Linked DNA regions of Homo sapiens: all the other regions are linked to region 3. Evidence: promoter capture Hi-C in 16 types of primary human blood cells and fetal thymus (Javierre and others, 2016). All regions are on one chromosome and are shown on one strand. The core of a region is centred on a gene start or on the middle of the fragment in contact, and the rest is flanking DNA. Distances in the headings are between cores, read along the strand shown.

Evidence for each region. The method cuts DNA at HindIII sites, captures the fragments that hold promoters and counts their contacts. A CHiCAGO score of 5 or more calls a contact.
Region 1: a fragment that was not itself captured here is called in contact with the fragment with the promoter of NHLRC1 in region 3 in 1 of 17 cell types (erythroblasts); the score reaches 5.1 in erythroblasts.
Region 2: the fragment with the promoter of FAM8A1 here is called in contact with the fragment with the promoter of NHLRC1 in region 3 in 3 of 17 cell types (megakaryocytes, neutrophils and total B cells); the score reaches 8.9 in megakaryocytes.
Region 4: a contact is called between a fragment that was not itself captured here and the fragment with the promoter of NHLRC1 in region 3, in 3 of 17 cell types (M2 macrophages, erythroblasts and M1 macrophages). The highest score is 8.9, in M2 macrophages.
Region 5: a contact is called between a fragment that was not itself captured here and the fragment with the promoter of NHLRC1 in region 3, in 1 of 17 cell types (M2 macrophages). The highest score is 5.4, in M2 macrophages.
Region 6: a fragment that was not itself captured here is called in contact with the fragment with the promoter of NHLRC1 in region 3 in 14 of 17 cell types (M2 macrophages, M0 macrophages, naive CD8 T cells and 11 more); the score reaches 14.5 in M2 macrophages.

What each region holds. Positions count from the first base shown.
Region 1 is chr6:17,189,977-17,194,779 of GRCh38, forward strand. No RefSeq gene overlaps it. Among named protein-coding and RNA genes, the nearest start is that of RBM24, 89 kb to the right of the region's middle. RefSeq lists a silencer at 3,329-3,529. The HindIII fragment of the contact is 709 bases long and covers 1,357-2,065 here.
Region 2 is chr6:17,599,001-17,603,510 of GRCh38, forward strand. It overlaps FAM8A1 (family with sequence similarity 8 member A1), which reads left to right and starts at 1,302. Exons shown (of 5, transcript NM_016255.3): 1 at 1,302-2,121; 2 at 3,590-3,710. The coding sequence starts at 1,410. RefSeq lists a silencer at 1,161-1,640 and enhancers at 2,707-3,207, 3,208-3,708. The HindIII fragment of the contact is 5,181 bases long and covers 1-2,596 here.
Region 3 is chr6:18,121,427-18,126,483 of GRCh38, forward strand. NHLRC1 (NHL repeat containing E3 ubiquitin protein ligase 1) reads right to left here and starts at 1,251. Exons shown (of 1, transcript NM_198586.3): 1 at 1-1,251. The coding sequence starts at 1,180. The HindIII fragment of the contact is 6,107 bases long and covers 555-5,057 here.
Region 4 is chr6:17,167,797-17,172,987 of GRCh38, forward strand. No RefSeq gene overlaps it. Among named protein-coding and RNA genes, the nearest start is that of STMND1, 68 kb to the left of the region's middle. The HindIII fragment of the contact is 2,888 bases long and covers 1,926-4,813 here.
Region 5 is chr6:17,132,265-17,137,065 of GRCh38, forward strand. No RefSeq gene overlaps it. Among named protein-coding and RNA genes, the nearest start is that of STMND1, 33 kb to the left of the region's middle. The HindIII fragment of the contact is 553 bases long and covers 1,640-2,192 here.
Region 6 is chr6:17,148,039-17,152,821 of GRCh38, forward strand. No RefSeq gene overlaps it. Among named protein-coding and RNA genes, the nearest start is that of STMND1, 48 kb to the left of the region's middle. The HindIII fragment of the contact is 1,642 bases long and covers 2,204-3,845 here.

The DNA of each region.
Region 1 (4,803 bases), core at 461-2,960, 930 kb before region 3:
ACAGAAAAAACTTACCCTTATTCTGTCAAATGCTGTTGATAGGTTAGGTAAGATGGTGATAGAGGTTGACCTTAGATTTAGCAAGGTTATTCGTGCCCATAAAAAGAACTATTTTGATAGAGTAGTAGGAGAAAAGGCATGAGTGCATGGAGACAGAATGGAAGGAGAGGACATAGTCAGAGAATATAGATAAACACTTGAAGAAATATGGAAATGAGTAACTGGAGGAAGAAGTTTGAATGTTGATGGAAATAACTTGGTAAAAGAGTAAAATACTGACTATGTAGCAAAGAGGGGAGAACTAGTAAAGAAATGTCCTTAACTAGAAGAGAAGGATAGGATGCAGTGCAAAAATAGAAGGATTATGTTTTGGGGGGGCGCTGTTTATTTATTTTTGAGACAGGGTCTCGCTGTGTCACCCCGACTGGAATGCAGTGGCACAAACATGGCTCACTGCAGGCTGGACCTTCCAGGTTCAAGCAATCCTCCCACCTCAGCCTCCCAAGTAGCTGGGACTACAGTTGCATGCCACTACATCTAGCTAATTTTTAAATTTTGGGGGAGATGGGGGTCTCACTATATTGCCCAGGCTGTTCTTGAACTCCTGGGCTCCAGTGATCCTCGTGCCTCATCCTCCCAAAATGTTGGGATTACAAGCATGAGCCACTGCCCCTGGCTGGGACTGGGTTTAGATAGGAGCATGGAAAAATCTATTATATTTAACAGGCAGGAAATACATGGGTGTAGATGAGAATACTTGCACGGGAGTAGGTTCTGTAGTAGAGGACTGTGGAAGTTCTGATTATTTCAAGTTTCTCAGCAAAGTAAGAAACGAGGGCATTAGCTTAAGGTCTAGAGTTTTAGATATTTTAGAAAAAAGTTGCTCATATTATCATCTTTTTACTTGTAAAATAACTACAGCATCAGAAGTGGAAACTCATTTTCATCCCTGTCATTGGTTATTTATACCTTATTTTTCTGTTCTTATGTCTTCATTTGTTGTCTACTTTATTTATTTCTTTACTTTATTTCCTGTCTCTAACTTCTGGGGGCAAGGGTATTTTGCTGATTGTATTCTGATTTGTGATAGATGCTTAGCTCATTCATTTTCGGCCACTCTTCTTGTCTAATATATTTTTAAGATTTAAAATTTTTTATTATGAAATGTGTTAGCTACCTTCTATAAGCAATTAAATACGTACTAGTTTTCAGTTCAAAATATTATCTAATTTCTAATACAGTTCCTTCTTTGACCTGTGTTTTATGTTGAAGTATATTTTTTAATTTCTAAAACTATGAGCTTTTCTACTTATTTTTATTATTTATTTTTAGCTTACTTGCATTGCAATTGAGCCAAGCTTTGTAAAATTTCAGTTCTTCACAGTTTATTAGGACTCACTGTATGACCTTGTTTTTTTTCCTTTGCTATAAATGTTCTGTGTATGCTAGGGAAAAATGGGTTAGTGGGTGCAGTTTTCTAGCTATGTTTATTAGGTCAAGTTTATTAATCATGCTATTAAAAGATTCTATAGCTTATCTAATTCTTATGAGCCAAATTTATCACTCAGGGGCGTATGCCAAAACCTTCTGCTGTGGCTGTGGATTTCTCTCTTTTTTTCCCCTTAAATTTCAGTTAATATATGTTTACTGTATGTTTAGATTAGGTAATTAAGTTATACTGCTTAAATGTATTATCTTTTAATTTGAACTTTTAGTTCATTTACATTTAATGTAATTGGTAACATATTTTGACTTATATAAACCATATTATTTTTTGCTTTGTATTTTTTCAACCCATTCTACATTTTTAAAAAATCCTGGCATACCTACTTAATAAAGCCTGATGTTAATCAACAGGCATCCTCCTCTGGACAGTAACAAAAACAAAGAAACTTAGAACACTATTAACTCTATTAACTCTGCTTCCAACTTGCATATTGTGGTGAATATATATTAACTCTATCATATTTGTAACCCCTTAATATATTTCTTTATTGTTTCACATGCTTTTTGTTCCATCTTGCATCTCAGATTTTCCATCTGGAATTACTTTCCATCTGCCTGAAGCTTATTCTTTACAATTTCCTTTAGTGAGCATCTGCTTGTGGCAAACTTTCTCAGCTTTACTCGTCTAAAAATGCATTTATGTTGTCCTCATTCTTGATAGATATTTTCATCCGGTCTACAATCCTAGGTTGGCTGTTTTTTGTATTTTTTTAATGCACTGACAATATCATTTTACTTCCCACTGGCTTCTCCTGTTACTACTGAAAAGGCTGCTATAAGTAATGCTGGTCCTTTAAAGGTGAGGGTAGATGGCTCCCAATGAATCCCAGCTCCTGGTATTCCTCCCAGATGGAAAGAGAGCCCCCTCTGTCCCAGGGATCAGAGATGAGCCTAGCTTTCAGCCAACTCCCTTGAATAACCAAACAAGTGAGCTCAGGTGAAACTAGCAGAGGAATCTTTCAGCCAACCTACAGAATCATTTTAAAAAATAATAAATCATTGTTGTTTTAAGTCACTAAGGTTTGGGGTGACTAGTTATATGGCAACATATAACCTAAAAAGAAATTGCCAACTAGAACTGCAATGTTGTAGTAACAAAATCCTAAAGGTAGGCAAACAAACAACAAAAATCTTAAATGTATGATATTGGCTTTGGAACTGGACAGTGGGCGAAGGCTGAAAACCTGGCTGGAAAATTGTTAATGAAGCCTGGACGGGCTGCAAACAAACTATGAGTGGAGGCTGGAAAAGCAGGGAGGAACTCCTTATTGGAAACTGTTAAGTGGGTACTCATTGTTTTGTATAGTGAAACAATTGTGTCTTATCCCATTCAGGCTGCTGTAACAAAATATAGTAAACTAGGTGGCTTATCAACAACAGAAATTTACTTCCCACAGTTCTGGAGGCTGGGGAGTCCAGGATAAAAGCTGACAGATTCAGTGTCTGGTGAGAGCCCACTTTGTGGTTCATAGACAGCTATCTTCTCACTCAGTCCTCACATGGTGAAGAGGTAAGAGGGTCTGTAGTCTCTTTTTAAGGGCACTAATCCCTTTCCTGAGGGAAGAACCCTCTTGACCTAATCACCTCCAAAAGCCCTACCTCCTAATACCATCATTTTGGGGACCGGGATTTCAACATATACATTTGAGGGGAACACAAACATTCAGATGATAACAAATTGGCAACACTCTTGCCTGCAGTAACTTGGAAGAGGGGAAAATGGACCTCACTTAGATACAGTTGTAGCTGTAGCTAAAATGTCCAGCAGAATGCTGAAAGTATTATTTGGCCTCCTTTAGCTGCATATGATAAGACACATGGTATACATGATAAGAGAGAGGAACTAGAAAGAACTTTTCAGTCCGCAAGTAGAATTTAGAGGAAATCTAGAGTGCCCAGGACTTACTGGATTGTGAAATAAAATTGTTTCTCATCCTCAGTCTCTCCAGCCAGTAAAAAATTCTCTGAGTAAAACATGCTTACGATAAAGAGGAAATCCATGTGTGGCAGTAAATTCCTTTATTAAGATCCCACAAAGAGTTAAGGCAGTACTTAGTAGATCCCATTAGCTAGACAAATGGACTTCTATGAATCATAAGGGTAGTGACCCACAATAGCTTGATGTGCCCAGTGTAGACAGAGGTCTGTTTTGGCCTCTTGGGGCCTCATGGCTTTTGGAACATGGAATAAATTCCATCTAGAGTCATAAGAAACCAAACATATTTTTAAGGAAATTGTGCCTGCTTGAACTCAAAGCAATAAAGAATAGCTCAAAAGAAAGGCTGTTTCTGAGCCCCCAATCATCTACAGGCAGAAAAAGGCTGAGAATGTCACTCAGCTGCAAACATGGGCCATTTTCTATCAAAAAGGAGAAATGTCCGAGGTTAGACCCAAGGGTCCAGAGGGTGTCACCAAGAACTTAAAAGAACAACGCTATGATATTATGATATAAGAAATATGTATTTGGTCTCTGCCCCTAGTTCTTGGCACACAGGTCCTAAAACTCTTGTAATCTCCCAAATAGTAAAAGTCTTTTGTATGCTAAGGAGGTGACTGGCTGGCAGCTGCTAGCTAGCTTTAGAATGAGGTTGGTCACCAGAAAGATCAAGGCAGGATTAAAAGGTTGGGACTTTCAGCCCCATCTCACCCCCAAACTCTGGGGAGGAAGAAGAGGATGAAGGTTCTGTTCATCACCAGTGGCCAAGGATTTCATCAGTCATGGCTATGTAATGAAGCCTCCATACAAACCAAAATGGGCAGCGTTCACAGAAGCTTCCAGACAGCTGAACATGTTGAGGTTCCTCTAGTGTGGTGCCCAAGGAAGGGCATGGAAGCTCCACATCTCTTCTCATACCTTACACTATGTATCTCTTCCATCTGGCTGTTCATTTGTATTTTTTATAATAAATGAGTAAACATAAGTGTTTCCCTGAGTTCTAATTGAACCTGAGGAGGGGGTCATAGGAACCCTGATTTAGAGCCAGTCAATCAGAAGCACAGGTCATAACATGGGGCTTATGATTGGCATCTGAAGTGGGGGCAGTCCTCTGGAACTGCACCTTTAACCTACGGGAGCTGATGCTATCTCCAGGTAGCTAGCGTCCGAATGAATTAGATTATTAGACACCCAAATGGTATCTGCTGGAGAATTTCTTGGTGTGTAGGGAAAACCCCCACACACATCTGATGTCAGAAGTGTTGAGTAGTGTATGAGAGCAGGAAAAATAAGTTTTTGTTTATTTTTTTAGACAGGGTCTCACTCTGTCACCCAGGCTGGAGTGCAGTGGCACAATCATA
Region 2 (4,510 bases), core at 52-2,551, 520 kb before region 3:
CTCCTGCCTCAGCCTCCTGAGTAGCTGGGACTACAGGCGCCCGCCACCACGCCTGGCTAATTTTTAGTATTTTTAGTAGAGACGGGGTTTCACTGTGTTAGCCAGGATGGTCTCGATCTCCTGACCTTGTGATCCGCCCGCCTCAGCCTCCCAAAGTGCTGAGATTACAGGCGTGAGCCACCGCGCCCGGCCTTGTCCAGTCATTTTTTTATACGGCTGTCCATGCTTTGTTGAACCTAAGCATACAAATACACGATTTCCCTTGTTATCTTTGGGTCTTCATTCTGAAGGCTCCCGTGTCACATAAAACGATGGTCAAATCAATGTCTATGTCTTTTCTCCTATTAACTGCCTCCTGTCAGTGACTTTCAGCGAAACTTCAGAAGGTGAAGCGGAAGTTTTCCTTTGGCCCGGACAGCATCATCATTAATATCATTAATAAATATTCCCACAGTATTTGGCCCTTGTATGTCCTTTGTATGGTGCTGGGGATACAATAACATATCGCTGCAGAGATTTTCAAATGTAAAAGAAGAGAGATTATACTGATTTAAAAGCTAGATTCTGTCCTCACCCTGGAGCTAGTCTGCATTTACGAAAACTTACTTTCCACTGCGGTAGACAGACGCTTTCTACTCCAGCGCAACTGTGCCTTTCCTCAAATCTAGTCTCAAATTTAGGTTCCTTTTCATTTTCTGTTATGGAAAGGCCCTCAGCGTATCCCAGGCTTTGGAGCCTTTTGTTAGTAGTCTGGCCCATGCATAATTTCCCCTTCCTCTGAATTATACATAGCACCTCACTAGTTATATTTTAATACACTTTCCTATGTCTCAGTGGTAGTTTCCTATATTAATATATATCCCAGTTTAGTTTGGCTTTTAATTTCTTTTCTTCTAAGGGGATAGATGCGTTCTGTACCACCTTCTCGAGTACTAATGGTTAACTGGAATGAACACAAGCAACAAACCCTCCGGCCTGGATCCCAAAACAACAGTCGCGGTTCTGCAACAGAAAAGGCTGCGCTGGCCCTGGGACCTGTCTCGGAAATACTCCTCATCCATCTAGTTTCTCCCAGGACAACTAGGCCCAACCCCACGGGAATATACAGAGAGGCCTCGGGTCACAGACTTAAAGCTGTAAAAGGGAGGAGGCGACGGTCTGGTCCCAGTCACCGACCAGCCACCGACTACTAGGGCCCGAACCCGGGACTGCAGACGCACCTCCCCGCCCTCCCTTCCCAGCTCCGCCTGGCGGCGGGCGTTGCTCCTGAGGGGCGGGGCTTCCGCTTCCGGCGGGGGATTGTTGACGCCTGCGGTTGCTGCGGTGGTGACGGGGCTGTTGGGGAGGGGCCATTGGGGGAGGGAAACGGAGCAGTGACAGGTATCCCAGAGGGTGCTGCTGAGGCGACGATGGCCGAGGGGCCCGAGGAAGCCCGAGGCCACCCTCCCGGGCAGGACGATGGCGGAGGGGACCACGAGCCCGTCCCTTCCCTGAGAGGCCCTCCTACCACCGCCGTCCCATGCCCCCGCGACGACCCCCAGGCCGAACCCCAGGCCCCGGGCCGGCCCACAGCCCCGGGCCTCGCGGCTGCCGCCGCAGCCGACAAATTGGAGCCGCCGCGCGAGCTCAGGAAGCGCGGGGAGGCGGCCTCCGGCTCCGGTGCAGAGCTGCAGGAGCAGGCGGGCTGCGAGGCGCCCGAAGCCGCGGCGCCACGAGAGAGACCAGCTCGGCTGAGCGCCCGCGAGTACTCCCGGCAAGTGCACGAGTGGCTGTGGCAGTCCTACTGCGGCTACCTCACCTGGCACAGCGGCCTGGCCGCCTTCCCAGCCTACTGCAGCCCCCAGCCCTCCCCGCAGAGCTTCCCTTCGGGCGGCGCTGCAGTCCCCCAGGCCGCGGCGCCGCCGCCCCCGCAGCTGGGCTATTACAACCCCTTCTACTTCCTGAGCCCCGGGGCCGCGGGGCCTGACCCGCGGACAGCTGCCGGCATCAGCACCCCTGCTCCAGTCGCGGGCCTGGGACCCCGGGCTCCTCACGTGCAGGCGTCGGTCCGGGCCACTCCAGTGACGAGGGTAGGATCCGCAGCCCCTTCGCGAAGCCCGAGCGAGACCGGGCGACAGGCAGGTGAGAAGCGCGAGGTGGAGGCTGGGCGGAGTAGAAGGGTTTTCGGGGGCCTGTGGGGTAGAGCTGGCACGCTTTTTAGACCTGTAACTGCTGCTTCTACTCTGATTGACTATCCTGCCCGTTCAGTTCACTAGCTATCGTTTGTCCAGGCCCTAAATTCCCAAAATGTACAAGGAGGCAATACAGTTTCTTCTTCCTTTAGACCTGGCACTCCAAATTGACTCCCTTACTCATGGGACTAGTTGTTTATTCGTGAAAAGAAATTGCTCTTCAAACCATCCTCTTCCTTTGGTTTTCACGCTCTGCAGTGAGGGCCAAAGCTAAATTCGCAAATGGCAAACCCACTTTTGGAGGGGCTCGACTGGTAATGCTGAAAATTATTCAGACATTGGCTACTTAGGACAGTGGAACTGAACGGATATAAAAGGAGATCGACATGGATACAAGTGGAGTTAGGAAGTTTTGATTGGGTCAAAGCTTCACTTCATTTGATCAATATCTTGTATATTGTGTAATTGTTTTTGCTTCTGTGTGTGAACTAGAATATTTTGAATTAGTTACACTTCTTAGTTTACTATTTAAACTATTAGACTTTTAGTTTATTTTAGTTAGCCACAGATAGATGGGACAAGAACTAGTTGATGCCTCTGATCCCAGTCAGAATTTAGGATGACAGATTGATACTCACTGGGTTTATTTTAAAGAAAGCAAAACAAACTAAAAAACGGGTGGGGGGGGATTACAGGGATTTACTTTATACTAATTGCCAATATTTAACCTTGATTTGTACTAAAAAATGTTTAATTTTGTGTGACTTAGATGTGATCACCTGGATTCTCCTCATTAGAATTCCTAGTGAAATGTAGTGGGTACCCTAATCAAATTTATCTGTGAAATCAGTTTTCTAGGGGGAAAGTGGGGAGGGTGGGGACAAGGTCTGCTTCTATCGCCCAGCCTGGATAGTGCAGTGGCGATCTTGGCTCCCTGCAGCCTCCGCCTCCCAGGTTCAAGCCGTCCTGCCACCTCAGCTTCCCTAGTAGCTGGGACTAAAGGCATGCGCCACCACGCCCGGCTAATTTTTGTATTTTTTGTTGAGACGGGGTTTCGCCATGTTGGCCAGGGCCAGACTGGTCTCGAACTCCTGGCCTCAAGCAATCTGCCCGCCTCGGCCTCCTAAAGTGCTGGGATTACAGACGTGAGTCACTGCACCTGGCCGTGTGAAATCAATTTTTAAACGTTAAGGTGATGAAAGCAAACTTTAAGCTCAGTAAATAGTGGATTCTCTGTTACTCTATTTTAGTAACATGGATTCTTGGTGGAATCAATATCAATAGTTGCTGCACGGTTATAAATATTTTTTATTAAGTTGTACCTTGACTTTCTTTAGCAATTCATTACATGGCTTGTGTTCCAAGGCTTATGTGAAATGATTCGTTTTTCCTAACTTTTTTTTTTTTTTAATTTACAGGCAGAGAATATGTTATTCCATCCTTGGCCCACAGATTTATGGCAGAGATGGTGGATTTCTTTATTCTCTTCTTTATAAAAGCAACCATTGTCTTAAGCATTATGCACCTCAGTGGGATAAAGTAAGTTGAGGACATTTGCAGAAGGGTTTTAATTTCTACTGTTTAATGATCTTGTTTTATTACATTCTGTTTGTCTACACGTGACTATATGGATAATGGGCTTGTCAGTGTCATGATTTCTTTATAAGAGCTTTGTTAGATTTATTGTTTTCTTGTTGATTTTAAGAAATAACTAGAAAGGAAAAAAAATAGCTTACTGAATTCTATAAGATGTGTGGGAATCTCACCTATCAAAAATAGGTAAAAAGAGCCTCCAAACCTGCTTTGATTTTATTCACCTATTCTTTTAGGCCAGGAACTAATTTACCTCTCACTATCCTGTTCCCTCTTGCTATCTTGTGGAGTCTCTAAAGACAAAGGTATAAAGAGCTTTTGGTAGGTGAATTAATAATCAACTAGATGGCATTTCCAAATGGGATTGCACATACTGTGGGGCAAGTCCCAAGTGAACTTCAAAGTGAGACGTTTATTTGAGTAATCCTTCCAGATTAACAATAATCATAATAGCAGTTACCACTTCCTGAGTACTTTCTATATGCCATGTATTGAGCTTGCTCACTTCTTTATGTGGATTCTTATTTAATCTTAATACCAAGATGAGGTGTAGAGATTAATACCACCATTTTATAGAGTTTGAAATTTGGGTTTATGAAAAGTTGAGCACAGAACCTAAAATGTTACAAAGGTAGTAAGTGACAGAGTCAAGATACAAGCCTGTGCAGTCAAATTTCAGGGTCCTTGCCAGAAACCTGTTACTGTGATTCCTCCCTGTCCCTCCCTCTCACTCCACTCCACATCCA
Region 3 (5,057 bases), core at 1-2,500:
AGTCAACTTTATAGACTTTTATAGAATGAGATGCTGTGTCCAGCACAAGAAGAGAATTCTCCTTGGTGAAGGTAAGAGCCACAGGATGCGAAAGACCATGAGTGACCATGGGCTTCGGTACTGGAAACTCCTCAGGTTTTCCTAAGCAAAGGATAGCTGGACCAGATGTATCTGCAACAATCACATTTCCCTGGTGATCAAAGGTCACAGCGGAGGCAGTTATTTTGGAGGGAAAGTAGAGGCTCAGCCCAAAGGTATCCACTTGGCCGACAAGCTGCATACTTGAGCTAAACACTTTCACCCTGGTGCTGCAAACCCCAGTCCCCAGGGCCAGGGGGTGCTCCAGGACCGCAATGGCCCCGGTGAGCCAAGACACTGCCACCCCTCGGGGATTGCACAGATGAGCTTGCAACCTTTCAGTTCTCCGAAGGACCCCTTCCGCGAAGTCGACGTCCAGGAGGTGCAGGGACCCTGCCTCCGCATCAGTTACCACAATCCCATTCTGAGGGGTGGTCTCCACACCCCAAGGTAAGGAGAATTGGCCTCCAATGACAAGCTTGATCTGGCCAAAAAAATCAAACACTTTGATGGAGCGATCGCCGGCGTCAGTGACAACCACATGGCAGTCGTTGGTGATGGTGACATCCACAGGGTACCTAATGTCTTGGGCAGCGTCCCCCTTCTCTCCAAACTGATGCGCGCATCCTCCCCCTGAGTCAAAAATCTTGACACGCCTCCTGCCGTCGTGCACCACCACGACACGCCCCGTCTTGGGACAAAGCGCCAGTCCGGTGGGGTTGACCAGGGTCCCCCAGCCGCCGAAGGTGTGGTGGCAGGTGAGGGCTCCGGGGGCGCTGGGGGCGGCGCGATGGGCGGCCGGGGACTGGCGAAGCGCTGAGCCCAGGAGCTCTATGAGGTGCAGCACCGGCAGGCAGTCGCTGGTGTCGCAGCCCCGGCAAGCTCGCCTGCAGAATGGGCACTCGAGGGCCAGAGTGCGCGGGTGCGCCAGGGCGGCCACGCAGGCCAGGCAGACCACGTGGCCGCAGGACAGGTTGCGCGGGCGCCGCTGCTGCCGGTGGCCAAACTTCTCAAAGCACACCTTGCACTCGAGCAGGCTGATCTCCGCCTCGCGCATGAGCTCATGCAGCGCTGGCCCGCTCTCCGAGGCTTCGGCCGCCATGGCGCGTCCTGTGCACTCCCGCCGCGCCGCCTGGCCGTGCCCCAGCGACGCTCTCGGTCACGGTCACAGTCATGGTCACGGGGTGGGACGTGCGCCCTGACGTCGAGCGCCGCGGGCCTCTGCACTGCGATCTGCTGCCCCTTGGTGGGCACGCGCGGCACTGTTTCCTGAGGGCCTGATGGTGGACGTTTGCAAGACAAATCCACATGCGCGTTGTGTAGACCTGTAATCGTCACAGCAGTCATGGATGGATTGTGTACACTTTCAGATGAGGAAACACACCTATTGAGGACAACAGGATTGCTCCCTGTCACCCAGCCTGTAAGCGGCAAAACAAGAACTAGAACCCAATCTTCCAGCCCGGGTGCCTAGCAGTGTCTCCAATCCGCAGCGCCGGGTGCTACGGCTGTCCGGGCATAAAACATGGTCCCTTAGCTCATGATGCTTATGATCTGAACCGGAAAACACGAACACACTAGAGAAGATAAACTCCAAGGGAGGTGAGGCAGATGTGTACATTTCTTTTGTGTCTTCTGTCATACTCATAGTTAAGTCAATGTTAGATGAATACATACTTGTAAAATGAATTTGTGCATGAATGAATGTTATAGAACAACAACAACAACAAAAAAAAATCAACGAGGTGAATGAGTGTCAGATGGGGCAACCATGCTGGAAGTGTCTTGCAGAGTAATTAATATGAAATAAGAAAGCTGTTAGTTAATAATAATTACCATAGAACTTCATTTTTTTGTTTTTTAAGACAAAGTCTCACTCTGTCACCCAGGCTGGAGTGCAGGGGCACGATCACAGCTCACTGCAGCCTCCATCTCCCAGGCTCAAGCAATCCTCCCACTTCAGTAGCTGGGACTACAGGCATGCACCATCACACTAGGCTAATTTTTTAATTTTTTTGTAGAGAGGAGGTCTCACTATGTTGCCTAGGCTGGTCTTGAACTTGTGAAAATTGTTCACATTCCTCCCCACCCCTTGGCCTCCCAAAGTGCTGGTGTGAGCCACTGTGCCCAGCCTATGGAATTCACATATGCCTGCCCCATTGTGTTAGGTTGGTGAAAAGGATTCGCAGTGTTTGCCATCACTTTTAATGGCAAAACCGTGATTACTTTTGCAGCAAATTAATAAATAATTTACATAGATTATCTTGTTTAAACCTCATAGCAATCCTACAAAAATATGTTATTTTTATTGTCTTTTTTTCTGATAGAATTCATAGAAATCAAATATCTTGCCCAGGGTCACATGGCTAGGAAGTGGCTGGCCTGGAATTTGAAGCCAGGCAGTTTGACTTCAGAGTTACCTATTTTAGTCATTTTCAAACTTCTTTGCACATGGTAAACACCTGGGTCGCACCCGAAAAGTTTAATTGGCCCATGGTGTGGTCTGGACAGCTGGGATTTATAAAAGCTCCCCAGGTGATTATAATGTACAGCCAAGTTTGAGAAACACTGCATTATAATAATTCCCTCAAATGACACTAAGTTCAGTTTTTCCAATCTCAGTTAAGACCAAAAACAAAGAGAATTTGCCATATGTTGGAAAATCTTCAAACAAGGGATAGCATAATCTGTGTGAAGAATCCATTGTGGTATTATAATCTCTCATTTTTCTTTTTCTTTCTTTTTTTTTTTTTTCTTTTTGAGACAGAGTCTTGCTCTGTCACCAGGCTGGAGTGCAGTGGCGCGATCTCGGCTCACTGCAGCCTCCACCTCCTGGGTTCAGGCGGTTCTCCCACCTCAGCCTCCTGAGTAGCTGGGATTACAGGCACCCGTGACCATGCCTGGCTAAGTTTTGTATTTTTAGTAGAGATGAGGTTTCACCATGTTGGCCAGGCTGGTCTCAAACTTCTGACCTTTCGCGTCAGCCTCCCAAAGTGCTAGGATTACAGGCATGAGCCACCGTGCCTGGCCCTAAACTCTTATTTTTAAGGGGTTCTCCCTCAAATGTCTTATGTGAACATTGTGCTTAACAAAACCTTGTATTAGAGAATTTCTTTTCCTTTAGAGATCATAATCATGAACATTCACCTTCTGATTTGCTAGATTTCTGAGAAAACACAATATTTTATCCCCTGTTGAGGCCCCTGGAAAGAGCTTTAATGTAAGACAAGAAAGAACATTTTCTAATCAAATGTCATTTGACTCAAAGATTGCGTACTGGGACACAATAACCAACTTAATAATTTCTGACTACATTTCCATCCCAAATAAACAACCAACTAAAATCACATTATTTATGCAATCACACCATTGCATAATTGATTAATAACAAATATGTCTTGAATCTCACTCTGACATTTGGCATTTCCTATGACTATCATTTCCTCCTCCATGGCTGGGCCTCCATGGATTTACCCTGTGCTTCCCTCCGATATTCCTTCTATAGAGGGTCCTGGACTAGCATGCCCATCTTTTCCTGCTTCCACCTAGAACAAGCCCTGAGAGTTGTGGGGGCAAAGGGCTTGAAGAGCAGAACGTCTAGTTTCCAAAGTGGTCAATGGCTGCCCTATGAAAAAGTACCATACTATAGTGGAAGGAGAGTGGGGACCCAGCTCAGGATGGTTCCAGCAGAGAAGAGAGCACAGGGGGAGCATGAGTTAGGGGGAGTCAGTGCTTAGACAGGTGGGCTCCTGGTTGTGCAGGTGGGGCAAATGTGCCAGACACATGCAGTTTAGAAGGAATCCCAGAACAAGTTTAATGATCCAATTACAACTCAGACTACCTGACAATGATGTAAGGGAAAGGAAGATGAACAAGCCACACAGAATGGGCTTTGCTTCCAGCCTTGCCCTCCTCCCAGGGGCGTCTCTGACCACCACTCTAATTTTTAAGCTCCATGTTCTTGGCATCTCAGGGGTGAGGGATGTGGTGGCAAGAGGAAGAATGGCTGTTTTTGAATTTTTTGAGTAAGTCCATACAAAAATGAGTGGAGATGTATGTTTGGAAATGGGGATCTAGAGATTTGAGTGCATCTCAAGTTCAATGCAATTGAGTGTTCCTCAGGGTGCCACCTTCAGTCTTTTTCTCTTAGCTTCCTACCTGTTTCCCTGAGCAATGCCATCTTCACTTCCTCGTGGTTTAAATGACCAGTTATAAGCTGACAGCTCCCTGCCTGTACCCCTAAGACAGCCATACCATATGAAGTTCAATGTTCAGTCCCTACCCCTACAACCTGTGATGCCTGAGAAAAGGATTATCTTCAATAATCAATAAACCTTTATCTGCTAGCACACCCAATAGTACTTAAATTGCTGAATGAATGCTGACTCTAATAGCAGGAGAAAGACTAAATAATAATTGTACTGCCACATTACAACATTATACAGCTATTTAAAAATCTTGCTTTTGAAAAATATTTAGTGACACTGTTACCAGTAGAAGGTTTGACTACAAGTTGTCCAGGTTCTTGGCTTTTTGAACAAAGAATTGGACAAAATGCACAGCAAAGCAGAGAAAGAATGAAGTAACAAAAGCAGAGATTTATTGAAAATGAAAGTGCTCCACAGGGTGGGACCTGGCTGAGCAGTGGCTCAAGGGCCCTGGTTACAGAATCTTCTGGGGTCCAAATACTGCCTAGAGGTTTCCCACTGGCCACTTGGTATTCATCCCATGCAAATAAAGTAGTGGCCCGCAATCAGTCTGATTGGTTGCTTTTGCTTGCTGCAACCAATGAGAGGCCGAAGTGAAGTTACAAAAGTTACACTCCTATGCAAACGTTTGATTGGTTGCAGATGTTTCTGCCACGCAGAAAAGGCTAGGGGCGGTGGGGTGGTGGAGGTTACAAAGGGAGTAGCCTCTGGTCCTTTTGTTACTTAGGCATGGAAAGTTGAGGTTTTCCTTTCAATTTAGTTCTAGGAAGT
Region 4 (5,191 bases), core at 2,120-4,619, 950 kb before region 3:
TAAGGAGCACCCAACTAGGCATTCAGGATACAAAGCCCTGTGCAAGTTCACTGCTGCCCTCGGGCAGCTCACAACCCCCGTGGTGGGGACAGAAAAAGGTTTGAATGACAAAGCACACTCTGAATGTTATAAAAGGGAGTAATCATAAATAAATAAGTATATAAACATATATATTTATAATTAAATAGTACATATATTTATAAAAAGTAAAATATAGTTATTTAAATAAATATATGTATACATTTACTTTTATTAACTATAACTTGATCAACCAGTACCATCAACTTAAGGAAATTTTTGTGCACGCAGTTTTTATCATTAAGGGGTAAGCTATATAAAAACAGAGACTTGTTAAAAACACACAGGTAACAAACGCTGAGTTTGTGAATATCTCTGAACTTTCAGCCACTACTAACCTACAAGGTTGATTTTCCACATACGGGCGCTGATTTTTTTTAAAGGATGACCTTAAAACACTTTCAGATTCTGGCTTGCCTAAGAAATGGTTGCTTATGTTCACTATGCTATATTTACTAAGGCACAAAATATATATATATATATATATATATATATATATATATATATATGCATGCAGATTAGAAAAACCATTTAAAAACTAGAGATAAAAAGGGTTTTCGCTTGACTTCTCTTAAGAAATTTAACTCATTGCATTATTTCTCCCTGGGGGTACTGGAGCAGTATTTACCTATTCACCACGTGGTGCTTTGGACAAATTCGTAAATTATGGGCTTTGCCATAGTCAATGTCCCTACAACATCTCTTCTGACAAACCCAAGCCCCATTCTGTGGAAGACAAGTCTCTTCATTCAAGATCTGGATCAAAAGCATCAGAAATTGTTTTCTTACGTTTTGCTAATTGAGAATGTTAGGCCTGCTTGAATGGTATTTATAATTATAAATCCAAATACTGTCTTTAGAATTTTAAAAATCTATCTCATTATTTTACTGAATCTTAATGCATTTCCCCCCAAATTATCAAGATAATTATAGGTTTTAAAATGAAGCTGGGTGCCGTGGCTCATGCCTGTAAATCCCAGCGCTTTGGGAGGTGGAGGCGGGAGGATTGCTTGAGTCTGGGAGTTTGAGACCAGCCTGGGCAACACAAGGGGGCCCTGTCTCTACTAAAATTAAAAATAAAAATTAGCCAGGCATGGTGGTGCACCCCTGTAGTCCTAGCTACAGAGAAGTTAAAGTGGGAAATGGCTTGAGTCCAGGAGTTTGAGGCTGCAGTGAGCTATGATCACGCTACTGCACTCCAGCCTGGGTCACAGAGCAAGACTGACCCTGTCTCTAAAAAAAAAAAAAAAAAAAGTGAAAATAAATAAATGAGTAAAACGGCTTTATAGGCTTCATCTTACAGACATTTAGCCCTTGCTTTTTCTACTAAGGCCAATAATGAAATATAGCTCCAATCGTCTATATATAAACACACAGACACACATTAGACCTCAAAGAATTGAATTTATTTTTATGGGTTAAAGCATTTGAATGTTATCTGAGACAGGATTAAAGGCAAAGTGTTCCTGACTCTTCCTAACGGAAATAGGATCATCGCTGGCCCTGGGCCTGGTGGTTGAGTCCTCAGCTAGAATCATATACTGTATTCAAAAAAAAGACAGTTGAGCTCAGAAGCGTGTCCCAGGGTAAAATTGCTGCCCTAGCGGCTGTGCAAATTCTCAGGAAGCTAGATCAGAATTTCCAAGAGGCAGCTGGTCACGGCCATTCCTTCAGCTATCCTGGAAAGGGCAGGATTCTTGACCATGCTGGAGGCCCAGATGCCAAATAGGACCCAGTGTTCATGCTCACATAACCGCAGGCCCTGACTCATGAATTTTTGTTTCTGGCATCTATGTTGATATAGATACTCTATTAGAATAACTCTGGGCTCTTCTGTTGTAAAACCAAGCTTGATATGAAGCGCCAGAGAAGGCCAAAGACATATTTATTTCCCTCGATCACTAAGACAAATGTCACCTCAGAAAAACCAGATGTTAATGAGCAGGGGAAACAACAGTATTATTTCATCCTTCCGCTGGCATGGCCTAGAGTTTGGCTGGTCTCTGATCCTGCCTCAGCAAATATGATGCACTTGACATTCATAGCAGTTTCTTGGATGAGGCGATTGGCGCCTGAGTGTTTACATGATTCCAGCTGATTCTCTTTCCTGCCACCCTCTAGGGGCTGAGCCAGCCATGGATGGGATTAGCCAGCCCCTCATTCCAAAGAGTAGTGCCCCCAATCTGTGCTGGTGCTCTGACATGAACACTCTTTCCTCTTCCTAAGAAACATTCGCCAAAGAAAATAAGGTACTTGGAATGAACACACAATTAAATATGGAAGGTGAGAGAAAGGAGAAATGGACACCTACCAAGTCCTAGCTCTTAAAGGAGAATATAATGCTCAAGACCAACACCTCTCCTTGAAGGATAATCTGGGCACATTAGACAGGTAGACTCTCCCTGTCTCATAGCTCTCCCTGCATGAGGTCAGCCAAGCTAAAAGGACTTCCTATTCCCCTAAGAACAACAGAGAGAAGGGAAGCTGCAGGTTAAGTGGCGTTAGCCTTACTTCTAGTAGCTAACCTGGGTGTGGGGTGTCTCTCCCTGTGCTGAGGGAGTGAAGGGAACCAAGAAGAGAAACTTGGATGACCCAGAAAAGGGAATGAGGTCAGACTATAGTTGGACCTCAATAGGACCCTCAGCAAGTAATGCCCTGCCAAACACTTTACATGGCTGATCTCCTTTAATACTCAGACAATTCCATGTGATATTATCATCCCAATTTTGCAAATGAAAAAATTAAAATTTTACATTGTTGAGTGTTGTATTCAGCATCTCACATTAAGTAGCCAAGTCTCATTTGAATCCAGGCCTGTCTGCCTCTAAGCCTCACACACTGCCCTGTAGCCCAGCAAGAGATCTAGGTTTCCTGCTTAATTTACCTGCTTTTGTCTTTGTCCTTCAAAGGAGGCAAATAAATATTCTTGAATGAAGTGTTAGCTCCCTTAGGGAACCAGGAATGGAGAATGAGAAGGATAAGGAAATAATTTTGATCTATTAAATAATGATTAAGTGCAACAAAGCTAAACTTGATGGTAGAATTTGATCCGATTTTCTGTTGCAACCAACATTTGTGTTCTTGAAGGAGGACACAGGCTTCGATGCTCATGTGTTACACCGTTCTTGAACTGCTATAAAGAAACACTCGAGACTGGGTAATTTATAAAGAAAAGAGGTTTAGGCCGGGCGCGGTGGCTCACGCCTGTAATCTCAACACTTTGGGAGGCCAAGGTGGGTGGATCACCTGAGATCAGGAGTTCGAGACCAGCCTGGTGAACACGGTGAAACCCCATCTCTACTAAAAATACAAAAATTACCCAGCATGATGGTGGGTGCCTGTAATCCCAGCTACTTGGGAGGCTGAGGCAGGAGAATCACTTGAACCCAGGAGGCAGAGGTTGCGGTGAGCCAAGATCACACCACCACACTCCAGCCTAGACAACAGAGCGAGACTCTGTCTCAAAAAAAAAAAAAAAAAGAAAGAAAGAAAGAAAAGGAAAGAGATTTAATTGGTTCGTGGTTTTCTGGGCCATACAAACATGGCAATGGCCTCTGCTCAGCTTCTGGAGAGGCCTCAGGGAGCTTTTACTCATGGTGGAAGGTGAAGAGGGAGCAGGCATGAACTCACTCACTATCATACGCACAGCAGCACCAAACCATGAGGGAACCTCCCCCATGACCTAAACACCTCCCACCAGGCTCCTCCTCCAATACTGGGGACAACAATTCAACATGAGATTTAGAGGGGACAACATCCAAACTCTATCAGCTCACTCTTATTTTTCACAATATGAGGATATAGCCCAGAGCTACTTTTATCAACTTTCCTCCCTAAAACCTTAGCTGTAGCTCCTCAACAAATAAAAGGTATATTTACAATAGAATAGTTCTTCATGCTAGACACAATATTATAGTTTTTACTAAATCTATAGATTATCTCTAACACCAACTACGCTCTACAAATAGCACTTATCACAGAATTTTAAGCAGAATATGTGACCCATTTTAACAAACTTGGAATAGAAGACTTTTTTTGCTGAGATGGTTCTATCAAAGGAAGCCAACATCACATTCAAAGCATCGATCTTCTCAAAAAAGACATAGGCTGTGCACAGTGATTCACTCCTGTAATCTCAGCATTTTGAGAAGCTGAGGTAGGCGGATCACTTGAGGTCAGGAGTTTCACCAATATGGTGAAATCCTGTCTATACCAAAAAATACAAAAATTAGCCAGGCATGGTGGTGCACACCTGTAGTCCCAGCTACTCAGGAGGCTGAGATGGGAAAATAACTTGAACACGGGAGGCAGAGGTTGTAGTGAGCCCAGATCGTGCCACTCCACTCCAGCCTGGGTGACAGAGTGAGACTCCATCTCAAAAAAAAATAAAAAGAAAAGAAAAAGAAAGAAAAAAGAAAAAAAAAGACATGTACATAGCAAAATCATCAAGATTTGCATTAGACAAAAGAGGTTATAACTTAGACTCAAAGATCTCAACATAATTTGATAAATGTTCAAAAGAAACAACTTCTCCTGATATGTGAGGGTGTTTGGATCAAGAAGTGTAATTCCTTGACTGGGTTGAACCAATCACACCCCTTCCTGGCATTTTATTTTACCTTGGGACCAGAGGGAGAGTGAGTCAGTCCTGTTTCGACTGTGGGAACAGCAAGATGTAAAAACTGGGCCAGTCTGTAGTGACAATGGGGTCCTCAGGTGGAGAAAAGCAAAACAAAGCTTTTCCTTATGACGTTCATCTCTCATTAAAGTCTTTCCTTGATAGAGCCGCATCCTTACCCTTCTTGGTATCTGGTTGTTTGTTCAACCCCTCCTTTGATTATATAAGAAAATCCAGTATCCTATTAAATCCCTTCATATGCTTAAGCTAATTTGAGTTGATCTTTTATCACATTCAAAGAAAAAAAAAGCAACTCATGATTAATGCACCATTGAACTGAAAATATATGAACTATTTGTCTCAAGGAATTTCAGGGCTATGTCAGGATTTTTCGTTCTTGATATAAGGAGGCCAAATCCTTTGATAGAGCTGCCAAATGATCCCTACCTTAAAAGGGCTCTGCAAGATCTGAGGGAGATGAAAGCAGTCAGAGGA
Region 5 (4,801 bases), core at 666-3,165, 990 kb before region 3:
ATGGGACCATCTAGTTGCAGGAAAACAAGCTCAGGGCTCCCACTGATTCTACATTATGGTGAGTTGTATAATTATCTCATTATATATAACAGTGTAATAAGAAGAGAAATAAAGTGCACAATAAATGTAATGCACTGGAATCATCTTGAAACTATCCACACCCCCTCCCCGACATTCATGGGAAAATTGTCTTCCACGAAACCAGTCCCTGGTGCCAAAAAGGTTGGGGACCTCTGTTGTATGTGTTTGTATAGCCTATAGGACTTCAAACACCTACAGCCAGTGAGGTATGATGGTGGTGGCAGAAGGGGGTTGAGGGGCTTCTTCAAAACTCACTGGAAAGCCGAAACCTTTAGAGTCAGTCTACTTCTTACAATGTGACCCTGAGGCATGCAGGCTCTCTGTGTCTCAATTACCTTACATGTTAATTTGGGATAGCCACTGTCACAGAGTTGAATCAGATGAAATAATGTGTTTAAAGATACTGTGTAACTGCTTGCCTGGTTCAGCAGACTGAGTTGTCCCACCCCTTCTATGCAGATATCTTGATTCAGGGGTGCCCTGTCCACTCCATGCCCAGACAGCTCTCCAGGCATTCGGAACACCCACTCACCTGGAACAGCAGCCTGAATCACCCCACCCTTCCTGTGCAGAGATCTTGGTGCAGAGGGGCCCTCTCTGCTCTACTCCCAGGCAGATCTTCAGGCATCTGGGGCACCTAATCTCCTGCATTAGGAATTTGGGCTAACTCCCATCCCTGTGCAGAAAACTTGGGACTGAGGAGGTTTCCCAGCTCCACACCTAGGCACAACTCTGGATGCTTGGTGGCCACCCACTAGATTATCCCTCAGAGCTTGTGCTTGTGTCTGCCACTAGGGAATGTGCAGGCAAACCTGCCTGGTCTGGCCCCACCCATCATGGCCCCTGCCCCTGCCCCCTCCAGGGCTGCATAGGGGAGCTCAGACCACTGTGAATTCCACAAATCACCCCATTGCCTAAGGCAACAGAGAGCTTCTGCAACAAACAAAGATCAAGTATATACACAGCCATATTGGCTGGCTCCTACCTATAAGTGCCATCTAAGGGCTTGTAGGTCAAACTGCACAGCCCAATATAAAACCTGCTGAAAGAAATGCATAGGGCTATATAGAAGCAAAGCCAAAAGACCCTACCCTGTTGGGGTACAGTACAGTTCCTCTACAGTAACAGGAACTGTACAGGGAGAAGGGGGGAAGGAAATGGAAAGAAAAAAACACAATATTATAGGAAAACAAAGAAAAAGAAAAAACCCTATCTTCAGGAAAATAATAACACAAATTAGAAGTGCCAGTATCTCCAGATGAGAAGGAACCAGCACAAAGATTCTGTGCCATGAAAAATCTGAATATAGTGACAAACCAAAGGATTGCACTAGCTCTCCAGCAATGGTTTCTAAATAAAACGGAAACTCAGAAATACAGATAAAGAATTCAAAGCATGGATTGCAAGGAAGCTCAATGAGATACAGGACAAGATTGAAAAGTGGTACAAAGAAACTTCTAAAGCAATCCAGAAAATAAAGGAAGTGATGAACATCTTAAAAGAAATCAATCAGAGCTTCTGAAATTGAAAAACTCAAAGAATTTCAAATACAACTGAAAGCTTTATCAATAAACTGAACAAAGCAGAAGAAAGAATTTCAGACTTTAAAGGTTGGTCTTTCAAATCAACCCAGTCAGACTAAAATAAAGAAAAAATAAATTTTAAAAATGAACAAAGTATTTGAGAAATATGGGATTATGTAAAATGGCAAAACCTATGAGTTACTGGTATTCCTGAGAGAAAAAGGGAAACAGCAAAAAACCTGGAAAACATATGTAAGGGAATAATTCAAGAAATTTTCTCTGATCTTGCTAGATAGGTAAATATCCAGATACAAGAAATCCAGAGAACACCTGCATGATACTATACAAAATGATCACCAAGGCATTTGGTCACCAGATTGTCCAAGTCAATATTTAAAAAACAAACAAACAAAAAAAAACTTAAAGGCAGCTAGAGAAAAATGTCAGATCATGTACAAAGGGAACCCCATGAGGCTAATAGCAGACTTCTCAGCAGAAATATTACAAGCCAGGAGAAATTGGGGGCCTATTTTCACAATTCTGAAAGAAAAGAAAATCCAAATAAGAATTCCATATCCTGCCAAACTAAGCTTCATATGCATAGGAGAAATAAAATCTTTTCCAGATGAGCAAGCACTAAGGGAATCTGTTACCACTAGACCAGCCTTACAGGAGATTTGTACTGGAATTCTAAACATGGAAATAAAAGAACAATACCTACTACCAAAAAAATGCACTTAAGTTGACACAGACCTTATAACTACACAATAGAAACTGCAAAGCAACCAGCTAACAACTTCATGATAGAATCAAAACCTCACATATCAATATTAACCTTAAATGTAAATGGTTTAAACCTTCCATTTAAAAGGCACAGAGAAGCAAATGGATAAAATAACAAGACACAAGACCCATCTATCTGCTGTCTCAAAAGACCCATCTCACACGTAATGACACCCACAGGCTCAAAGTAAAGAGTTGGGGAAAGATCTACCACAAAAACAGAAGATAAAAAAAAGAGCAGGGGTCACTATTCTTATATCAGATAAAATAGACTTTAAACCAACAATAGTAAAAAAGGACATAGAAGGACATTGCATAATGACATAGGGTTTAATTCAATAAGAAGACTTAACTATCCTAAATGCATATGCACCCAATATTGGAGCACCCAGATTTATAAAGCAAGTACTTCTAGACCTATGAAAAGAGTTAGACAGCCACACAATAATAGCAGGGGATTTCAACACCCCACTGACAGCATTAGACACATTATTGAGGCAAAACACTAACAAAGAAATTCTGGACTTACACTCAACACTTAATCAATTGGACCTAATAGATATCTACAGAATGAATACATCACCCATTAACCACAGAATATACATTCTTCTCATCTGCACATAGAACAGACTCCACGATTGACCACATTATCAACCATAAAGCAAGTCTCAATACGTTTTTAAAAAATTGAAATTATACCAACCATACTCTTGGACTACAGTGGCATAAAAATAGAAATAGATATCAAGAATACCTCTCAAAATCACACAATTACATGGAAATTAAACAACTTGTTCCTGAATTGCTTTTGGGTAAACACAAAATTAATGCAGAAATTATTTGAAATAAATGAAAACAGAGACACAACATACCAAAATGTGTGGGATTGCAGCAAAAGCAGTGTTAAGAGGTAAATTTAAAGCATTAAATGCCTACCTCAAAAAGTTAGAAATATCTCAAAAATGATCTCACATCACACCTAGTAGAACTAGAGAAACAAGAAACAACTAACCCCAAAGCTAGCAGAAGAAAAGAAATAAATCAGAATGGAACTGAACGAAATTGAGACCCAAAAATCCATACAAAGAATCAATGAAACCAAAAGGTAATTTTCAGAAAGAATAAGCAAGATCAATATATGGATAGCTACATTAACAAAGAAGAAAAGATCCAAATAAGCAAACTCAGAAACAACAAAGGTGACATTACAACTGATCCCACAGAAATACAAAAGATCCTCAGAGACTATTATGAACAACGCTGTGCCCAAAAACTAGAAAATTTAGAGGAAATGGATAAATTCCTAGAAACACACGATCTTCCAAAATTGAATCAGGAAGAAATTGAAACCTTGAACAGACCAATATCTAGTTCCAAAATTGAATCAATAATAATAATTTTAAAAACCTACCAACCAAATAAAGCCCCAGACTAGATGGATTCACAGTGGAATTCTCCAGATATACAAAGAAGAGCTGGTACCAATTCCACTGAAACTATTCCAAAAAAAATGAGGAGGAGGGACTGCTTCCTAACTCATTCTACAAAGCCAGCAAAAATCTAACTCATTCTACAAAGTCAACAATTAAAAAAGAAAACTATAGGCCAATATTCCTGATGAAAATAGACATGAAAATCCTCAACAAAATACTAGAAAACCAAATCCAACAGCATATCAAAAAGTTAACTCATCAAGATCAAGTAGGCTTCATTCCTAGGATGCAAGATTGCTTCAACATATGCAAATCAATAACAGTTATTCACCACATTAACAGATTAAAAACAAAAACCATATGATCATCTCAACAGGCATGGAGAAAGCTTTTCATAAATCTAACATCTCTTCATGATAAAAACCCTCAAGAAACTAAGCATCAAAGGAACATACCTCAAACTAATAAGAGCCATCTATGACAAACCCACAGTGAACATCATGCTGAATGGGCAAAAACTGGAAGCATTTCCCCCTGAGAATTGGAACAAGGCAAGGATGCCCACTCTCACCACTCCTATCCAATATAGTACTGGAAGTGCTAGCCAGAGCAAGCAGGCTAGAGAAGGAAATAAAAGGCATCTAAATAGAAAAAAAAAAAAGAAAAGAAAAGAAGTCAAACCATCTCTCTTCACAGATGTTAAGATTCTACACCTAGAAAAGCCTAAAAAGACTCCACCAAGAAGTTACTGGAACTAATAAATGACTTCAGTAAGGTTTCAGGATGCAAAATCAATGTATAAAAATTAGTAGCATTTTGGCCGGGCGTGGTAGCTTATGCCTGTAATCCCAGCACTTTGGGAGGCCAAGGTGGGTGGATCACGAGGTCAGGAGATCGAGACTGTCCTGGCTAACACGGTGAAACCCCGTCTCTACTAAAAATACAAAAAATTGTCTGGGCATTGTGGTGGGCACCTGTAGT
Region 6 (4,783 bases), core at 1,775-4,274, 970 kb before region 3:
TTTATCTTGCCATGCAGAAACTGTTTGGTTTAATTAGGTCTCATTTGTTAATTTTTGATTTAGCAGCAATTGCTTTTGGCATCTTCATCATGAAATCTTTGCCCGTGCCTGTGTCCAGAATGGTATTACCTAGGTTGTCTTAAAGGGTTTTTATAGTTTTGGTTTTTTTACATTTAAGTCTTTAATCCGTGTTGAGTTAATTTTTGTATATAGTGTAAGGAAGGGGTCTAGTTTTAATCTTTTGCATATGTGGCCTATGCCAGTTGATCGCAAAATGTGATTCCTAACCAGCTGCATCAGCATCACCCGGGAAGTTGTTATAAATGCAAGTTCTCAGGCCCCACCCCAGGCCATCTGTATCAGATCATGGGGCCCAGCGATCTGGATTTTAACCAGGCCTCCAGGTGATTTTCATTTTTTGAGATGGGGTCTCACTCTTTTGCCCAGGCTGGAGTGCAGTGGCAAAATCTTGGCTCACTGCCACCTCTGCCTTCTGGACTCAAGCAATCCTCCCACCTTAGCCTCCCAAGTAGCTGCGACCACAGGTGCATGCTACCACACCTGACAAATTTTTTGTATTTTTGGTAGAGACAGGGTTTCACTATGTTGCCCAGGGGGGTTTTGAACTCCCGAGCTCAAGCGATCCACCTGCCTCAGCCTCCCAAAGTGCTGGGATTACAGGCATGAGCCACTGCACCCGGCCCCTCCCAGTGATTTTGAGGCACGCTCGAGTTTGCTCTATGCTTGCCATTTAGTCTGTAAACACACTGAGCAATGCCCACAATAAGATGCACATTCCAGACTAGGAGACAACTTTCCAGCACGCCTGAGTATACCCTGTCCACAAGAGTCAAGTGGAATACTTACCAAGAGCCACTAACAACTATTCTAAGGCCTATTAATGCTATTTTTACCAGCTGTTATATTTAATTTTGAATAGCTTCTTTTACAGTGGAGTTAGGGCCGGGCGCAGTGGCTCACACATGTAATCCCAGGGAGTTAGGGAGGCCGAGGCGGGCAGATCACGAGGTCAAGAGATCGAGACCATCCTGGCCAACATGGTGAAACCCCGTCTCTATTAAAAATATAAAAATTAGCTGGGTGTGTTGGCGGGCACCTGTAGTCCCAGCTACTCAGGAGGCTGAGGCAGGAGAATCGCTTGAACCCGGGAGGTGGAGGTTGCAGTGAGCCAAGCTCACGCCATTGCACTCCAACCTGGGCGACAGAGCCAGACGCCATCTCCAAAAAAAAAAAATGGAGTTAGAAAAGGAATAGCAAATTTGCCAAAAAATCTTCAAAGGATGATTCTACACTCACATCATACTGTAAATTTCCAAACTTCATCCTCTAATTTAAGGTGACTAAAATTATAACTATAGGTAATACATTATGGATATGGTTTATATTATACAAGAATTGTAATCATACATTGATGTCACATCAAAGTGTTTTCAAATGAAAGTATATATAAATGTTTTAAGTTAAAATATTTAAGATTTATATACATTGTTTCTTAAGACTCCTTAATCAACTTTTATTAGGAAAAACCAAAGTGCTTTTCCTACTCTCATGCACTCAATACAACACAGAACACTTCAACGCTGGTCACCAAAATGGGTGAGGTTTTCTCTCCACCAACAATCAAGCAGGTCTCTAGCAGACACCAGCTGTGTGTTCTCTAATCCAATTCAATTAGGACACAATCTACCTGGAGAAAGCGTCAGATCCCACAGGCTAAGGGCTCAGTCCCACAAGACTGCCTCCCACTTCAGCTGCCAATCACAAGCAGTAGGTTGTTAAGTATTCCCAACCTTCTGGCTATAAATCAGGGATCCCACAGCCCCCTTCTCAGGTTCAATTAATTTGCTAGAGTGGCTCACAAAATACAGGGAAACACTTTCCTTACATTTACCCATTTATTATAAAGGAAATTACAAAGGCTACAGATGAATAGCCAGATGGAAGAGATGCATAGGGCAAGGTGTGAAAGAAAGGTCCCAAGGGCAGGAGCTTCTGTCCCTGTGGAGTTGGTGGAGGGCCATGCTCACAGCATAGGGATGTGTTTGCCAACCCAGAAGCTCTCTGAACCTCATAGTTGAGGGATTTTTATGGCACTGTCCTCACACAGGCATGACGGATTATTAATTCCATTTCCAGCCCTTCTCCCCTCTCCAGAGAATAAGAGACGGTGCTGAAAGCTCCAAGCTTCTAATCCTGGCTTGGTCTATCTGGTGACCAGCCCCCAGCCAGGAGCCCATCAAGAGTCACCTCATTAGGACAAAAGACACTGCTATCACCCAGGAAATCTCAACAGATGGAAGACCACTCTGTCAGAAACTGGGGCAGAGACCAAACATTAGAACAAAAGATTTTCCTAGCACCCCATCACTCAGGAAATTACAAGGGTTTTAGAAGCTGTGTGCCCAGGACTGGGAGCAGAGACCAACATGTATATAGCTTACTATTTCATAACTATTTGTATTAACTAATAACTTCTCAAACCCAATTGCAGCTATTGTATTTTAAGGAAACTTTATAACACAATCTTTAATATATTGATAAAAATTTAAAATATATATATATACTTTTTTTTTTTTTTGAGACGGAGTCTCGCTCTGCCGCCCAGGCTGGAGTGCAGTGGTGCGATCTCCGCTCACTGCAAGTTCCGCCTCCCGGGTTCATGCCATTCTCCTGCCTCAGCCTTCCAAGTAGCTGGGACTACAGGAACCCACCACCACGCCTGGCTAATTTTTTGTATTTTTAGTAGAGATGGGGTTTCACGGTGTTAGCCAGGATGGTCTCGATCTCCTGACCTCGTGATCCACCTGCCTCAGCCTCCCAAAGTGCTGGGATTATAGGCGTGAGCCACTGCACCTGGCCAAAAATATTTTTATTGAATAATCCGTTCTTGGCCGGGCACTGTGGCTCACACCCGTAATCCCAGCACTTTGGGAGGCCGAGGCAGGTGGATCACTTGAGGTCAGGAGTTCGAGCCCAGCTAGGCTAACATGACGAAACCCCATCTCTACTAATAATACAAAAATTAGCCGGGCATTGTGGCACGCCCCTATAGTCCCAGCTACTCAGGAGGCTGAGACACGAGAATCACTTGAACCCAGGAGGCGGGAGTTGCAGTGAGCCAAGATTGCATCATTGCGCTCCAGCCTGGGAGACAGAGTGAGACTCTGTCTGAAAAAAGAAAAGAAAAACCGTTTGGTGGTCTGCAAACAGTTGCTAGAAAAACTAACATCTCCAGCACAACACAATGTACAGCAAAGGAAAAAGTAATGTTCTTGGAAGATAGCCTTAGACTATTGGCTTGGTTAAATATTACATTACACAATTGTTAGTAATTTCATTTCATTCAGTCTCATAAAACCTGCTATTTCAGGTATGATATAGGAGCATTGTGGGTTCTACATGGCCAGCACTCCCTGTCCCCTGTCGCCATTCAAAATTGGTGATATTTTTAAAACCACTTCAGGGGTTTGCAATTCTAAAAAAGTTAGAAGACATTGCTATTATTTATTTAGCTGATCCCTGTTGTTGGAAGTTTATTTATTTTTAATTTATTAGTATTAGGAGTTATTGTAAATAATTCTATTGTCCACATAAATAGGCTGGTTTATTAAGTTAGTCTTAAATTTAATCTCACAAGTTAAATAAAATGAAAAATTCCATTTTGGATCTTGTATGTAACATTACAAGGAAGTTGGCAAATGCCAGGGAATTGCCATTTCCACAGAAATATTGTGACATCCAGCGACTGCTTAATTAGTCCAAACAACTTGGAACCATTTGTTTTAATGTTCCAAGGAGGGTCTGTTTAGTCCTTTGTCCCTCCAAGCTTGCTAAAATCTGTGCAGCTTGAATGCTGGAAATTTACAAACAAACAAACAAACAAAAGAAACAAACAAGTAATCCCAGTTGCAGCTGATATAGAGAAATTCATTTTGACTTGCGTCCTCAGTCCAAGGTGAACAATTGCTGGTCTGCAAACAGCTGCTAGAAAAACTAACATCTCTAGCACAACACAATGTACAGCAAAGGAAAAAAGTAACGTTGTTGGAAGATGGCCTTGGACTATTGGCTTGGTTAAATATTACATTACACAATTGTTGGTAATTTCATTTCATTCAGTCTCATAAAAACCTGCTATTTCAGGTATGATATAGGAGCATTGTGGGTTCTGCATGGCCAGCACACGCTGTCCCCTCAGACAAGGGTGAGGACAGTAGGGAGAGGAAGAAAAGCTTGGGCTGTCAATGAGGGACACCAGGACCCTTGAGGTGCCCTCTGAAATCTAACAATCAATCAACTTGAGCCCTTCCAGAGTTGGCTGCCAATTAACTGTTTTCCCCTATCCCCACATCATCTCAACAAGATCAGTGAATATTTTCAATACATTTTTGTCTTCTTCTTCCCATGGTCTGAAGTCAAAGTTTGGGAATGATTTTAGTTACCACTTCTTCACTCCAGTTCCTAGTTTTTCTGAGATAATTTAGTATTTTTGTTTTCAAATTGTTAAATTACCTATAAAGTATGCCGTTTTATTTCTAGAGTCTATATTTGCACTTATATTACAGATTCATTGACAGTCTACCCTTAGTCATTTAGGTAGATAGATAGATATGAATAGATGATGAATATAAGTATCTCAAGTTTCATTGCTCATGCTCATTTCTTCTCATCTTCTTACACTATCATAATGTCTGCTTGGATTTGCTTGTAGTTTGGTTAGAGTATGTGCTCAAGAAAATCCCTCATTTGGGAACACTTAGGT